Regions from separate parts of the Homo sapiens genome. Here region 1 is linked to region 2. Evidence: promoter capture Hi-C in 16 types of primary human blood cells and fetal thymus (Javierre and others, 2016). All regions are on one chromosome and are shown on one strand. Each heading gives the region's core, a stretch centred on a gene start or on the middle of the fragment in contact. The rest is flanking DNA. Distances are from core to core; before and after follow the strand shown. Region 1 has its middle 21 kb from the start of LINC01226. Region 2 holds the start of NKAIN1 (sodium/potassium transporting ATPase interacting 1).

Region 1 (7,382 bases), core at 642-3,141, 300 kb before region 2:
AATTATGCTAAATCTACTCTGCCTATGCTGTATAAATGCAACAACAAAGCCTGATGACAGCACATCTATTTACAGCATGGTTGACTGAATATTTTATGTCCACTGTTGAGACCTACTACTCAGAAAAAAAAAGATTCCCTTAAAAATATTACAGCTCATTGACAATGCACCTGGTTACTCAAGAGTCCTGATGGAGATGTACAAAGAGATTAAGTTGTTTTCATGCCTGCTAACACAGCATCCATTCTGCAGCCCATAGATTAAGGAGTCATTTCAACTTTCAAGTCTTATTATTTAAGAAATACAATTTGTAAGGCTATAGCTGCTACAGAGAGATCCTCTGATGGATCTGGGCAAAGCAAATTGGAAACATTCTAGAAAGGAGTCACCATTCTTGTGCCGTTAAGGACATTTGTGATTCCAGGGAAGAGGTCAAAATATCAAGATTAACAGGAGTTTGAAAGAAGTTGACTTTAACCCTCAAGGATGCCTTTGAAGTGTTAAAGACTTCAGTGGGAGAAGTCACTGCAGATGTGGTGAAAATAGCAAAAGAACTAGAATTAGGAGTGGAACCCGGACAAGTGACTGAATTGCTGCAATCATGCCTGGACCGGAGGGGCAAAAGGAAAAGCGGTATTTCCCAAGCCAGGTTCGGACGCCACTCTGCAGAAGCTGGAACCATGAAGACATAGCCGCTACCTAAGAAGCCACCTGGGACAGAGAGGAGAGGGCTTTTTCCTTGTCTTCCCAGTCTCCTGTCAGTGGTCCCCAGCAGCTGCTCTCTGCTGGAAGCCAGTGCTCCTGCAGGATAGAACTAAGTGTTGGGGGGCAGAGAGTGGGTCTAGGGGCAACCAGGCCCAGGAGGAGCAAAGGCAGTCAGCGAAGGCTTCTCTGAGGTGGGGACATTTAACTCAGTCCTGAAGGATGAGGAAGCATCAGGCAGATTAGACACCAGGGGAGAGCATTCCAGGCATAGGTAACGGCTAGCAGTGTGAAGGCTCGGAGGCGGGAACAAGCCTAGCATCAGGAGGAACAGAAAGGAGTGTAGTGGGTGGAAGAAGGTAGGTGGGAATTTCCTAGGCTCCAAAACCGATGTATGCTACATGTCAAATATTGTCCTGATATTCCAGATGTGAAAGTGGAGGGGCAGAGTGTGGTTTCCAGAACTCAAAGAACCCTTCTGATAAGATGACCTTATATGCAGATCTGATCTAGACCATGCTGGACGCTTGGAGACCGAAAGGCATTCTGTGTCTTACCAGCCTGTCTTTCCTAGCACCTACACAAGCCGGAAAGCTGCTTCTGGCCCATTTCCCAGTCTGTGCAGCTGTATCCACCACCCTGCTCCTCCCTCCCTGTATGGTTTGCATGTTTTGCCACCTCCAAATCTCATGTTGAAATGTGACCTCCAATGTTGGAGGTGGGGCCTAGTGGGAGGTGTTTGGGTCATGTGGGCGCACCCCTCATGAATGTCATGGTGCTGTCCTTGAAGTAATGAGTGAGTTCTCACTCTGTGAGTCCATACGAGATCTGGTTGTTTAGAGGAGCCTGAAGCACCCCCTCCTCTGTCTTGCTCCCTCTCTTGCCATGTGATGCCGGCTTCCCCTTTGCCTTCAGCCATGAGTGGAAGCTTCCTGAGTCCTCACCAGAAGCAGATGTTGGCACCATGCTTCTTGTACAGCTTGCAGAACCATAGGTCAAATAAACCTCTTCTCTTTATAAATCACCCAGTCTCAGGTATTCCTTTGTAGCAACGCAAAACAGACTAATACACTTCCCCTCCAAAGCTTCAGAGGCTCACTTTGCAGGAACACTCTTGTATTACCTGGAAAGATGATCAGACTCTGCTTCCTTTTGCTTGTCAGAGTCAGATTCCAAGGTGAACCAGCTCAACTGCTGAGGCCTCAAAACACACAGGAAATAAAAGGAGAAGAAGAAAACCAAAGAATAAAACTGTTTTATCAAAACTCAGTATGTGATTGGAAATAAAGCTTTGATAAATCACTTGGAGAGAGGTGATGCTCAGGTACTAATGTCTCATGGTCCCTCTGGCTTTAGGAGAGGATGGATCTGGTAATCTGCAGGGCTTTTGCTTTGCTGAAGAAATCCTGCATGTCTGGGCAGAGAAACCTTGCTGAGGACAGAAAAGAGAGGTCCAGTGCTGTTAGCACAGGCCCAGCCATCTACCCTCCCTCTACATACCTCCATCTGAATGAATGTTGAATAAATACTTCAGGAATAACTGTTTATTGCTGGGACAACTGGGTTTCCACATGTGAAAGAATGAATCTGGACTCCTACCTCACACCGTATGCAAAAGATAACTCAAAATGAACCAAGACCTAAATGTAAGAGCTAAAAGCATAAAACTCTTAGAAGACAGCACAAGAGTATGTCATTATGACTTTGGGTTAGGCAGGGGTTTCTTAGATATGGCTTCTTATTTATTTATTTATTTATTGGAGATGGAGTCTCACTCTGCCTCCAGGCAGGAGTGCAATGGCTCAATCTCGGCTCACTGCAACCTCTGACTCCCTGGTTCAAGCGATTCTCCTGCCTCAGCCTCCTGAGTAGCTGGGATTACAGGCACACACCATCACATCCAACTCACTTTTGTATTTTTAGTAGAGATGGGGTTTCACCATGTTGTCCAGGACGGTCTCGATCTCCTGACCATGTGATCTACCTGCCTCGGCTTCCCGAAGTGCTGGGATTACAGGCGTGAGCCACCATGCCTGGCTGATATGATTTCTTAAACACCTAAAGAAATGAGGAGATACCAGGCGTGGTGGCTCACGCCTGTAATCCCAGCACTTTGGGAGGCCAAGGCAGGTGGATCACCTGAGGTCAGGAGTTTGAGACCAGCCTGACCAACATGGAGAAACCCTGTCTCTACTAAAAATACAAAATTAGCCAGGCATGGTGGCTCATGCCTGTAATCCCAGCTACTTGGGAGGCTGGGGCAGGAGAATCCCTTGAACCCGGGAGATGGAGGTTGCAGTGAGCCGAGATCGTGCCATTGCACTCCAACCTGGGCAACAAGAGTGAAACTCCATCTCAAAAAAAAAAAAAAAAAAAAAGAAAAGAAAAGAAAAGAAATGAGGAGAGAAAATGGGTATAAGATTTCTTTCCTAGGGTGACAAAAACATCAAACATTAGAGTGTGGTGATGATTGCACAACTCTGTGAAGATACTAAAAGTCATTTAATTGTACATAATTTTCCCAACTTTATTGAGGTATACATGACAAATAGAATTATATAAATTTAAGGTATAGAATGTAGATTCCACAGATAATGTGAGAATCACTGTATGTTTCTCACATAGAAGTGAGATTATATAGTACTTGTCTTTCTCTGTCTGACATATTTCACTTAGCATAATGGCCTCAAGGTTCTATGTTGTCGCAAATGACAGGGCTTCCTTCTTTTTTATAATGAATAATATTTCATTGACTGTAGGCTGGGCATGGTGGCTCATTCCTGTAATTCCAGCACTCTGGAAGGCTGAGGTGGGCAGATTGCTTGAGCCCAGGAGTTCGAGACCAGCCTGGGCAACAAGGTGAAACGCCATCTCCATGAAAAATAAAAAAGATTAGCTAGGAGTGGTGTCACATGCCTGTAGTCCCAGCTACTAGAGAGGCTGAGGTGGGAGGATCTCTTGAGCCCAGGAGGTCAAGGCTGCAGTGAGCTGTGATTGTGCCACTGCACTCCAGCCTGGGTGACAGAAGGAGACCCTGTCTCAAAAAAAAGAAAAAAAAATCCATTGATTATACATCCATATAATTTTTTCTTTTTACACAGTAGTTCCTGCATGGAGCTTGGTGTCTGGCATACAAGTCTCTTCATAAACATTTGTTAAATCAGAGGTTAGGTGAACGACAGCATTACTGTCTTCCTGAACTTGGGCAAGTGATTTAACCCGTCAGTGCTTCACTTTCCTTTTCTATAATGACTTCTTAAAAAAATGAAATAATTTCCATCTGTCTCAGCTAATACTTTTGTAAAATACCGTGAAATCAGGCAGGGGAGTGGGGCAGAGTGGCCTTGCAATGGTCGGGGTAGGGCTGCTGAGCTGAGGGCTAGCTGGGTGAGGCAGCTGAGTGTGAGGTAAGAAAGAAGGAGCGATCCTCCAAGGTTTATATAAAATTGGTCATAGGATAACAACTTCTGAGATCCCAGCAGGAGTCCTAACATCTAGCAGCTTGACCACCAGGACACCGGCCTCCTAAAACTAATCCCAACAAGCACCTGTAAAGTCTTCACAGGTGAAGCCTACCTTTTCAGATAGTCCAACAGCTAAATCACCAGTTCCCAAGGCCATTTGCATCACCCATGGAAAACACCGGATCCTTATACACCAGATGTTCTTGACAGCTCATCCCATCATTCCCCCTGCACAAAAGCTGCTATACCAGCGGACAACCACAACAACTACCGAGCTTCTTTTTGTAGGTATAGTATCACTGCCAGCAAAACAGCACAAAATGTGTCTCTTCACAGTATCACTATCAATTGGGACCATGCTAGGAAAATCAGCTTGCCTGGATGAGGACCCCTTTTCTTCTTGGGTTACCAGGATTTGAAGGAGATACTCTGACCTGTGCCACTGGTAAGTGACTCACACTTTTACATCCTGAACTGGTCCTGGAAACTGAGATGTCTTCTATGTAAGTGAAGAATATACAACATAGTCTTGAAGAATTGCGCAGTGGTGTGGGCCGCAAGCATACTTCATGTGTGTAATGGACTGAAAGAAAAAATAGGCCGGGCGCAGTGGGTCACGCCTGTAATCCCCGCACTTTGGGAGGCTGAGGTGGGTAGGTCACCTGAGGTCAGGAGTTCGAGACCAGCTTGAGCAACATGGAGAAACCCCGTCTCTACTAAAAATACAAACTTAGCTGGATGTGGTGGCACATGCCTGTAATCCCAGCTACTGTGGAAGCTGAGGTAGGAGAATTGTTTGAACCCAGGAGGCGGAGGTTGCAGTGAGCCAAGATCATGCCATTGCACTCCAGCCTGGGCAACAAGAGTGAAACTCCGTATCAAAAAAAAAAAGAACACTTCAGCTCTACTCTCTTAACAAATTTCAAGAGTACAATATGATATTGTTAATCGTAGTTGCTGTGTTGTACATTAGCTCTTTATGGCTTATCTTGTGCAGCTGAAAGATTGTGCCCTTTGACCAATATCTCCCCATTTCCCCTACTCCCCACCATTCTACTCTTGCTTCTATGAGTTCAACTTCGTTCAGGTTCCACATATAAGATCATGCAAAATCTGTCTGTCAGAAAAAGAAAAATCTGAAAGAAAAAGTTTAAAAATCCACCCAAGATGGTTGCAGCCTGGACATTAAGTAATAGAAAGTAAGCCTATGAACTAAAGCTGAAGTCTCACCTGCAAGGCTGGCATTTGTCAAAATATTTCACTGGCATTACTGACTGTAACCTTGATTATCACATGAAGCACAAAAGCAGGATAGAATCAAATATCCCTCACCAGACCTTAAGACACCTATGTAATCATTAACTTTTTACCCTATATACATTAACTGCACCTTTGCTTTATCTTATATATAATGTCACCAAACACCAATCAAAATTGTAAGAACACCACCTTTGCTCCACTGACCCTTCTCCCATTTTCTGTTTTTCTTTTCCTTTTTTTTTTTTTTTTTTTTTTTTTGAGACAGAGTCTCGCTCTGTCGCCCAGGCTGGAGTGCAGTGGCGTGATCTTGGCTCACTGCAACCTCGGCCTCCCGGGTTCATGCCATTCTCCTGCCTCAGCCTCCCGAGTAGCTGGGACTACAGGTGCCCGCCACCACGCCCGGCTATTTTTTATTATTTTTTTTTTTATTTTTAGTAGAGATGGGGTTTCACCATGTTAGCCAGGATGGTCTCAATCTCCTGACCTCGTGATCCGCCCGCCTCGGCCTCCCAAAGTGCTGGGATTACAGGCGTGAGCCACCGCGCCTGGCCGTGCTTCTCCCATTTTCTATGTAGAAAACATACACATACTGTGCCTCGTGGAACCCACCACAGGATGCATTCTGGGTTTGTACTGAGTCTGTGTTCCCGGGCTATAGTCCTCAAACTTGTCTCAGAATAACATTAACTTTGATTTAAGTTTATAGTGCCTATTCTTTCACCTTTTGGGTCAACAGATAGCATACTCGGCAGAATTCCAGCAGGATCCGCAGACACCCAGAACTCATTCTTGGCACTTGGTGCTTGGTATCAGCACGAACTCATTGTGTTCAAATGGACTCCGGAGGAGCCACTGAGTGCAACGGCGTGAGTTACCTGGAATCTGGAGCTCCCTCTCTTCTGTAGAGGTCCAGATCCACTTTATTCTGAGCTGTTTCCAGGACCACGAAAAGGAGAAGTAAAGTCTGAGTTTGCTAGATTCTTCGTATGGTTGTTATTGCTTGTTGTTCTCAACTGCTAGAAAGGAAGGAAAAGGTCAACCAAGCATTGTCATGGTTAGAGCGGTGGTTTCTTTCATCAGCTGAGTGTTTTTCTTTTTAAAAGCTTTTTGGGCCCGGCGTGGTGGCTCACGCCTGTACAGCACTTTGGAGGCTGAGGCGGGCGGATCACCAGATCACGAGATCCAGACCATCCTGGCTAACACGGTGAAACCCCATCTCTACTAAAAATACAAAAAATTAGCTGGGCGTGGGAGGCTGAGGCAGGAGAATGGCGTGAACCCAGGAGGCGGAGCTTGCAGTGAGCCGAAATCGCGCCACTGCACTCCAGCCTGTGCGACAAAAAGGCTTTTTTGTCTGCAGCAACCCTTTACCTTCTATATTAGGGTAATTGAGATAGAATTGCTCTCTCCAGCCCAAATCTCAGGTATTCTTAGGTGACTAAGAACCTTGTGGAGGTGTTGGAGGAGATTCCTCATGACTCGCAGCAATCCCAAAGGGCGTCACCATCAACACTCAAATTGCAATAGTTCCTCTAGGAACTTCTCATAAAGGTTAGTCACCCAGTGCTCGGAATAGCACGCTGCTTCATCAGGAGAGCTTCTCCTGAGACATGCAAGAGAGCAGACCACCTCGGGGGTAAGAGCCGGAGGAGTGAAGCTCATATGCAGCACCCTTTTATTTTTGAGACAGGGTCTCACTCTGTCACTCAGGCTGGAGTGCAGTGGTGTGATCATGGCTCACTCCAGCCTCAACCTCCTGGGCCCAAGAGATCCTCCCATCTCAGCCTCCTGAGTAGCTGGAACTACAGACACACACCACCATGCCCGGCTCATTTCTTTTTTCTTTTTTGTAGAGATAGGGTCTCACTATTTGTATGTCTTCTTTCAGATTGGCCTTGAACTCCTGGGCTCAACCAATTCTCCCGACTCAGCCTCACGATGTGCTGGGATTACAGG
Region 2 (7,033 bases), core at 132-2,631:
CTGAGTAGCTGGGATTACAGGTGCCTGATACCATCCCTGCCTAATTTTTGTATTTTTAGTAGAGATGGGGTTTCACCACGTTGGCCAGGCTGGTCTCGAACTCCTGAACTCAGGTGATCCACTCACTTTTGGGAGGCCGATCTCCACTCAGGTGGAGGTTGCAGTGAGCTGATTCAGCCTCCCAAAGTGCTGAAATTACAGGTGTGAGCCACCGTGCCACGTTTCTTCTTTAATATTCTTTAGAGTATTCATCAGAACTTTGCGTATTTATTTGTATATTTCCTTGTTTTAATGACAATCCCTCACTAGACTGTGTGCTCAATGAGGGCAGAGATTTTGTCGGGTTTTGTTCCCTTATCCCCAGCAGAGAACCTGGCACATAGTGGGTATTTCATAAATGTTAGTTGGAAAGTACAGTTTATAGAATGTAGTGACAGATCAGATGTAATTGTAGGGAAGCCTGGAGGATGACCTAGGAAATTCCACTTGGGTGATGCTAATTGCCAAGGTGAATATAGGAAGTTAGGAGTGGGACAGGAATGATTATGTGGATTTGAGATGTGTCCAGTTCGAGGGCTTTTGGGGGTGGCTTGGAGAAGGCAATCTTCTGCTGGGAAACTTCTGACTCTGTCCCTACTGCAGCCCAGGGTAGGGGCTCCCTACCTCCACCTGGGCAGATCTCTGCCATCACCCATCTCACTGGCGTGCTCTTGGGAGCCTATCTGTTCCCTGGGCGGTGCAGCTCTACGGGATTTGGAACAGTGTTGCAGGTCTCATCTCTGGCTCGCAGGGCCCCCAGGGGTGTGTATGCAGTCAGGGCTCAATAAATGCCAGTAGACGGAAAGAAGGAAGGCGAAAAATGTGGCCAGACACTCAGGGGAGAGGCTGGGGTGAGGAGCAGATCTGGGAACGTAAATAGAACTAGAAGTCCAAGTTGGAACCCTGGAGCCCTAGAGACAGGGTGGACAAAAAAGTGTTCCAAGCCAGGAGGCCAGGCACAGGGCTAAGCGCTTTATTCACATGACTGCATTTCATCTTCATATCTACACTAAAGAGGCATAATTATTCCTACTTTGTTCATGAGAAAACAGGTCCAGAGAGGTGACGTGATTTGCCCAAGGTCACACAGCGAGTGAGCAGCAAAGTCTGGATTTGACTCAGGGCTGTTGTCCCCTAAGCCCGCACGCACTCTTCCACTTCACTCCCTGCCTCTCCAACCCTCCACCTCCCTATCCCTCTCCCCTCCCCTCCGGCGGCTCCCCCGCCCCACCCCTCTGCCGTTCCCCCCAACTCCCTCCCTGTCGGTGGCGGCGGCGGAGCCACGTGGTGGGGCCGGGAAGCCGCGGCCGACGAGAGCCCGGGCGACTGCCCCAGCTGGGCAGTGCTGCTCTGCGCTGCGCCGCGCTCGGGGCTCGCTCTCCTTGCTCCGCGCTCCCCGCCAGCCGCCCCGGGGCAGGAGGCGCGCCTGACGGACGGCCCGCTAGACAAAGGAGGCGCGGCTCGGCGGGGCCAGCGCGCGGACGGACGGACCATGGACTCGGAGCGCGGGCGGCCGGCCCCAGCCTTGGGGACCGGACACTCCCGGGCCCGGCCCTAGGCGCCCGGCCCCGCCGCCCGGCGCGCCCAGCGGGGAGGACGTGGAGCCCGCGCGGCGCGAGCAGGCGGCGGCCGCGGAGCAAGAAGGGCGCCGCGGCGTGCGGCCCGCGCAGCCCCCGGAGCCATGGGCAAGTGCAGCGGGCGCTGCACGCTGGTCGCCTTCTGCTGCCTGCAGCTGGTAAGCGTCGCGTGCCCAGGCAGTCGGGGCAGGGTGGGGCGCGGCGGGGCGCGGTCCCAGGGCGTGCGGGTGGGGTTGCGTGTGTCTCTGTGTGTGTGTCTGGTGCGTGTGCCCGGGCGGGGGGTGGTCTGGAGTCTCGGAGCGGTCGGGCGGAGCCTGCTCCCGCTGGCCGGGCTGTCTCTTTGTGTGCGCTTCTCGCTGCTGTGCCCGGCGCTCCTCCGGTCCCCAAGTGCGTCCTGTGCGCGAGTCCCCGGCCCGCCCGCACTGTACAAGTGGCCTCCTGTTGGGGGATGCGCTGTGGGACGGTGGCTTGCTGGGACTGGGGGTGTGTCTGAGGCTGATCTGTGGATCCGTTGAGGTCCTGCTGTGTGTTTCCCTCTAGATCCCTCGTTTGCATGGGTCTCTCCCTTCCTCTGGGTCTCTGCCTCTGATCACCACCCCTGTGTGAGCGTTTCTCACAAAGTCTCTGCTCCGGCGTGTGTCTCTCAGGGTTTCTCTTTGGTGTGTCTCTAAATCGCTGACCATTTCTGGCCCATGTTCATCTGTGTTCTGGGATCTTAGACTCCAAGAACCCTCCAATCCTTTGTGTTGTTTCTGCCTCCCTTCACCTTCCTGACCGGGCAGTCCTGGGAAAGGAGAGCCACCTCCCTGGAGAGGGTCACCAGGAGCTGCCAGATCCTGGGCCAGCCTGACCCAGCCTGGACCACACTTCCTGCTTTGGTCTGGCCGCTGTGGCCATGGGGGTTCCATCAGTCATCAGTTCCACCCACCAGAGCAGCTCCTCTGCCGGGGCCAGCAACAGTGGGGATGGGGACACTTGGGTGCCCTAGGGAGGACCAGAGCATCTGAGGACACTGTGCCTAGCCCCAGCATAGGGAACTCAGGTTCTTGTCTCAGGGAGGAGTGACTGTAGTGGACTAGAAGAAACAGCACTGCCCTTCAAATCAGGCCCTGGCAGGGGAATTTGGGAGGGTGGTTAAGGAGAGGCAGGGGTCTCCTACCTACCCTAGAGCTGAGATTGAACAACTAGGGAGGTTGAAGCTGTGCTTCTCCTCTAGGCAGAGGTGCATGGGGACCTCCATCGCCGAACCCAGGTCTGAGAGTGGGCAGCGAGGAGCCTGAGCCCCCCTCATGCTGGACTCCTTGTTCTGGGTTTCCACTCTTGCCTGCATCCATCACGCCCTCCCCACCACAGGAGCCAATGATAATGTAGAGTGAAGTTTTGAGCCTGGACATGCAGACCTCCTCATTCGTCTTGCTTCTCTCCTCCTGGGGACACCAGCTTCAAACATGCCATCCACAGACCTGGCCTGGGCAGTGGTGGAAACAGCCCTAGCTCTGGAGATTGTAGCCCTGCTCCCAGCTGTGGGAGACTGGACAAGTGACTTCCCCCCACTGGCCGGCCTCAGTCTTCTTATCTGTAAAATGATTATCCCTGAGGATTGCAGAGGGAATTAATTAAGATCAGGTGGAATGGGAACTCCAGAAGGGCAGAGATTGTCTGTTTTTCTTTATCTACTTTGAGGAACATGAAATGCCAAGAAATGTTTAAACCTTTCAGAGGATTCTTCTGTGTTTGTTAATTTTTTAATTTTAAACTAGGGGTTTTTTTTAATTAGAAAAGTAATATACATATATTGTAAAAAATAAATACATACATAATCAAACAGGACAGATAAATAAAAAGTAAGTTTTCTAGGCCAGGCATCGTGGCTTATGCCTGTAACCCCAGCACTTTGGGAGGGCGAGATGGGCAGATCACCTGAGGTCAGGGGTTCGAGACCAGCCTGGCCAACATGAAGAAACCCCATCACTGCTGAAAATACAAAAATTAGGGGTGGTGGCACGCATCTGTAATCCCAGCTACTCGAGAGGCTGAGACATGAGAATCACTTGAACCCAGGAGGCGGAGGTTACAGTGAGATGAGATCACGCCGCTGCACTCCAGCCTGGACGACAGAGTGAAACTGTGTCTCAAAAAAAAAAAAAAAGTTTTCTTCTCTCTATAACTAGACCCCTCCCCAAAGGTGAACCTGTTAGCAGTTTGTCCCATGCTCATTCTCTGTTGGCGATAATAACGGTTAGCTTTGGAGAGCCCTTGACTAAGTGTCAGGTACTCTTGGAAGCACTTTTCCAGGTATTAACTCATTTAATCCTAACAGCCCTATGAAGTAACTTGTCCAGAATTCTACAGGAACTAGGACCCAGGCTTTGTTTTGGGGGTTTTGTTTTTGTTTTTGTTTGAGACATGGGCTCACTCTGTCATCCAGGACAGAGTGCAGTGGTGCAATCATAGCTCACTACAGCCTTGACCTCCCAGGCTCAAACAATCCTCCCACCTCAGCCTCCTGAGTACCTGGGACTACGGGGGCACACCACCATGCCTAGCTAATTTTTTTGTGTTTTAGAGGTGGGTCTCACTCTTGTTGCCCAGGCTGGTCTCAAACTCCTGTGGTCAAGCCATCCTCCCACTTCAGCCTCCCAAGTGCTGGGATTATAGGCATGAGCCACCACATCCAGCCAGGATCCAGGCTTTGAATCCAGGCAGTTGGCCAGGTCCTCTGTTGCCTTCTTAATTATAAAATAAGTAGTTCTGGCCCTGGTAAGTCTGGGGCCCCATGGAAGGAGCTCATGGCTCTAGAGAGAAATGAAGGTGGTAGAGTGTCTCTCTGCCTCCCACTTCCCTTCCTCCATAGTTCTCCCTTGCTAAGCTAACCCCACTCTTCCACTTAGAGGAGCTCACCAGCACTAGAGGCTTGAGTTAGATGAGACCTGGGTGGCATTCTGGTTTCTCCCACATCCCGGCTGGGTGGCTTTGGGCAGCTTGTGAAGGTTGCACAAGATCATTTGCGGGAGGAACTTGAAAATTGCTCTCTTGGCTCTGTTGCACTATCTGGGCTCATTGCAGAGTGGGCCCTCCAGTTGTCACTAACCTCCATGAGCCCCTACTGCCTGATAGCTTCCATAATGTGCCCCGGGATGTTGGAATTCACCAGCCTGAGGGGAGAAGGGAGTCTTGGTTTTCTCATCCAAGGGACTGAAGGGAAAAAAGAGGCTGTTAAATATCTTTCAGCTGAAAACTTAGGAGGAACTGTGTCATTTTTCTTTCTCAAATGGAGTTTAATCGTTACAATGAATCAGGCCAATTCGAAACATTCTTCCTCAGTTGGGATAGATGTGATTTGGGTGAGGGAGTGAGGTGTGAGGGTGCCATGGGGTTTAAGGGAAGCAGGTAGGGACTGTGCCTTTCAGATGGATAAGTGTAGGATAGTAGTTAAGGCTCTGAAGTTTGACAGGACAGACCTGGCTTTTAGACCTGGTTCTGTCACTTCCTGGCTATGCAATTTTGGGCAAGTTGCTTACCGTCTCTGAGCCACATAGTTTTGTCATCTGTTAAATAGAGAGAATATAAAACAGTTCCTAATCCTTAGGGTTGTTGTGAGGACTCAGTCCATATAATGAATTTAGCACTCTGGCAGGTACAGAGTGAGTACTCATTAAACTGTAGCTTATTGTTATTATCTTAATGATTCATATCATGGGATGTGTCTGTGGCACTGTAGCCCAAACATATCCAGGTGACCCCCTGCACTGTCCTTTGTGGACTGTCCTTTGTGGGAAGTAGCAGGTAGTTGGGCACTGAGCTGAGAGGCAAAAGACCTGGATTTAAGCCTGGCTCTGCTTCTGACATCCTGCAATTTGGGGCAAGTCTCTTCCACACTCTAGGCTTTGGTTTTTCCATCTGTAAAATGGGAGGCATTATTGGTCTGGCTCGCTGGGATCCTGCCAGCTGTACTTGTCAGGAACTCAGGGTGGTGCCTGGACTGGCATGTTTTGTTTATTTATTGTTTATTTTTTAGAGATAGGCGTCTCACTGTGTTGCCCAGGCTGGAGTGCAGTGGCAATCATAACCCACTGCAGCCTCAAATTCCTGAGCTCAAGTGACCTTCCCACCTCAGCCTCTCAAATAGCTGCAGCCTCAAATCCCTGAGCTCAAGTGATCCTCCTACCTCGGCCTCTCAAATAGCTGGGACAACAGGTGCATGTCACCACACCTGGCTTTGGCATGGCAGTTTTGTTGCATCTTGATCCGGTTCCTTTCTGTAGAACATCTTGGGTCCCTTGCTTTCCAGAATTCTTTTTGGTGTATCATTTTGACAACATTATTAACATATTCACCCTCTAATTTTTAATCCCGTGCCTTTTCTCTCTCCTTTCCAAACCCAGCTCTTCCTTGTTCACCTCCTTCCTGAAACCTTACAGGCCACTCTGTTCTTCCTGGAAGGGGATGAACCAGTGAGATTTGCCCTAGGGAATCCCCATCAATTTCTTCATCATCATCATTATCATTCCCATTTCAGGAGTCCTGTGCTAAGCACTTTATATGCATTACCTCATTTAACCAAATGAGCATACATATGTAAAGTGCTTGGCAAAGTGCCTGGTGCATGTTAAATGATCAATAAACGTTAGCTCTTTTACTGCTTTCATCCTTCTTATTGCAATTCCACACAGTGGGGTAGATGTGTTTATTATCCCCTTTTTCAGGTGAGGAAATTGAGGTGCGAAGGGGTGTGACGTTTGCCCAAGCTCGCTAAGCTAGTCAGTGACAGAACCAAGATGCGAGGACTCTTCTGTCTGAACAGAGAGCCACCCTCTCAGCCCCGTGCTACTCTACTGCTCGCGTTTAACCAGTGCTTGACCCCAGACAGGTCCAAGCCTGCGTTTCCTCATCTGAAAATGAAGATGATCATATTTCGATAGCCTCATGTGTAGTGCCTGCACTGTGAGCCAGTGAGTGCCCAATAATAGATCACTGCCATGGTTGTTTCTGTCCCAGCTCTGTGTGACCTTGGACACACGCATTCACTCCTCTGGCCACAGTTTCTTCCTTTGTAAAAGAGGAAGAGTCATCTCTAGCCCACAGAGTTGTAGAAAGGGCTTCCTTGGCCAGGTGCCAGACACATAGTAGGTATTCAGAAAAATGTTGGTTTCATTCTTTTCCCTTCTAGAAAGCTCTTTGCTTTCTGGAAGGTGGGGGCGGGGGGCGGGATGTAGCTTCCAGCTGAGCTGCGAGTAATGGTGTGAAACATGGTCAACCTGATTGATGTCGTTATTAGCAATAGTGACGGCGAAGACCAAAGGGAGATGGGCTCCAGCAGGGGCCTGCACTCTGGAGCAGCTGCAGCTGCAAGCTCACGGCTTCCTCGGGAGGGTCTGGTTCTGCTTCGGGTGCTTGAGGTCCTTGGGCCGGGTATC

Evidence for each region. Contacts are between HindIII fragments. The CHiCAGO score rates a contact against its expected background, and 5 or more counts as called.
Region 1: a contact is called between a fragment that was not itself captured here and the fragment with the promoter of NKAIN1 in region 2, in 1 of 17 cell types (naive B cells). The highest score is 5.0, in naive B cells.

Annotation. Positions count from the first base shown.
Region 1 is chr1:31,535,329-31,542,710 of GRCh38, reverse strand. No RefSeq gene overlaps it. Among named protein-coding and RNA genes, the nearest start is that of LINC01226, 21 kb to the right of the region's middle. The HindIII fragment of the contact is 204 bases long and covers 1,790-1,993 here.
Region 2 is chr1:31,234,235-31,241,267 of GRCh38, reverse strand. NKAIN1 (sodium/potassium transporting ATPase interacting 1) reads left to right here and starts at 1,381. Exons shown (of 7, transcript NM_024522.3): 1 at 1,381-1,774. The coding sequence starts at 1,721. The HindIII fragment of the contact is 17,944 bases long and covers 1-7,033 here.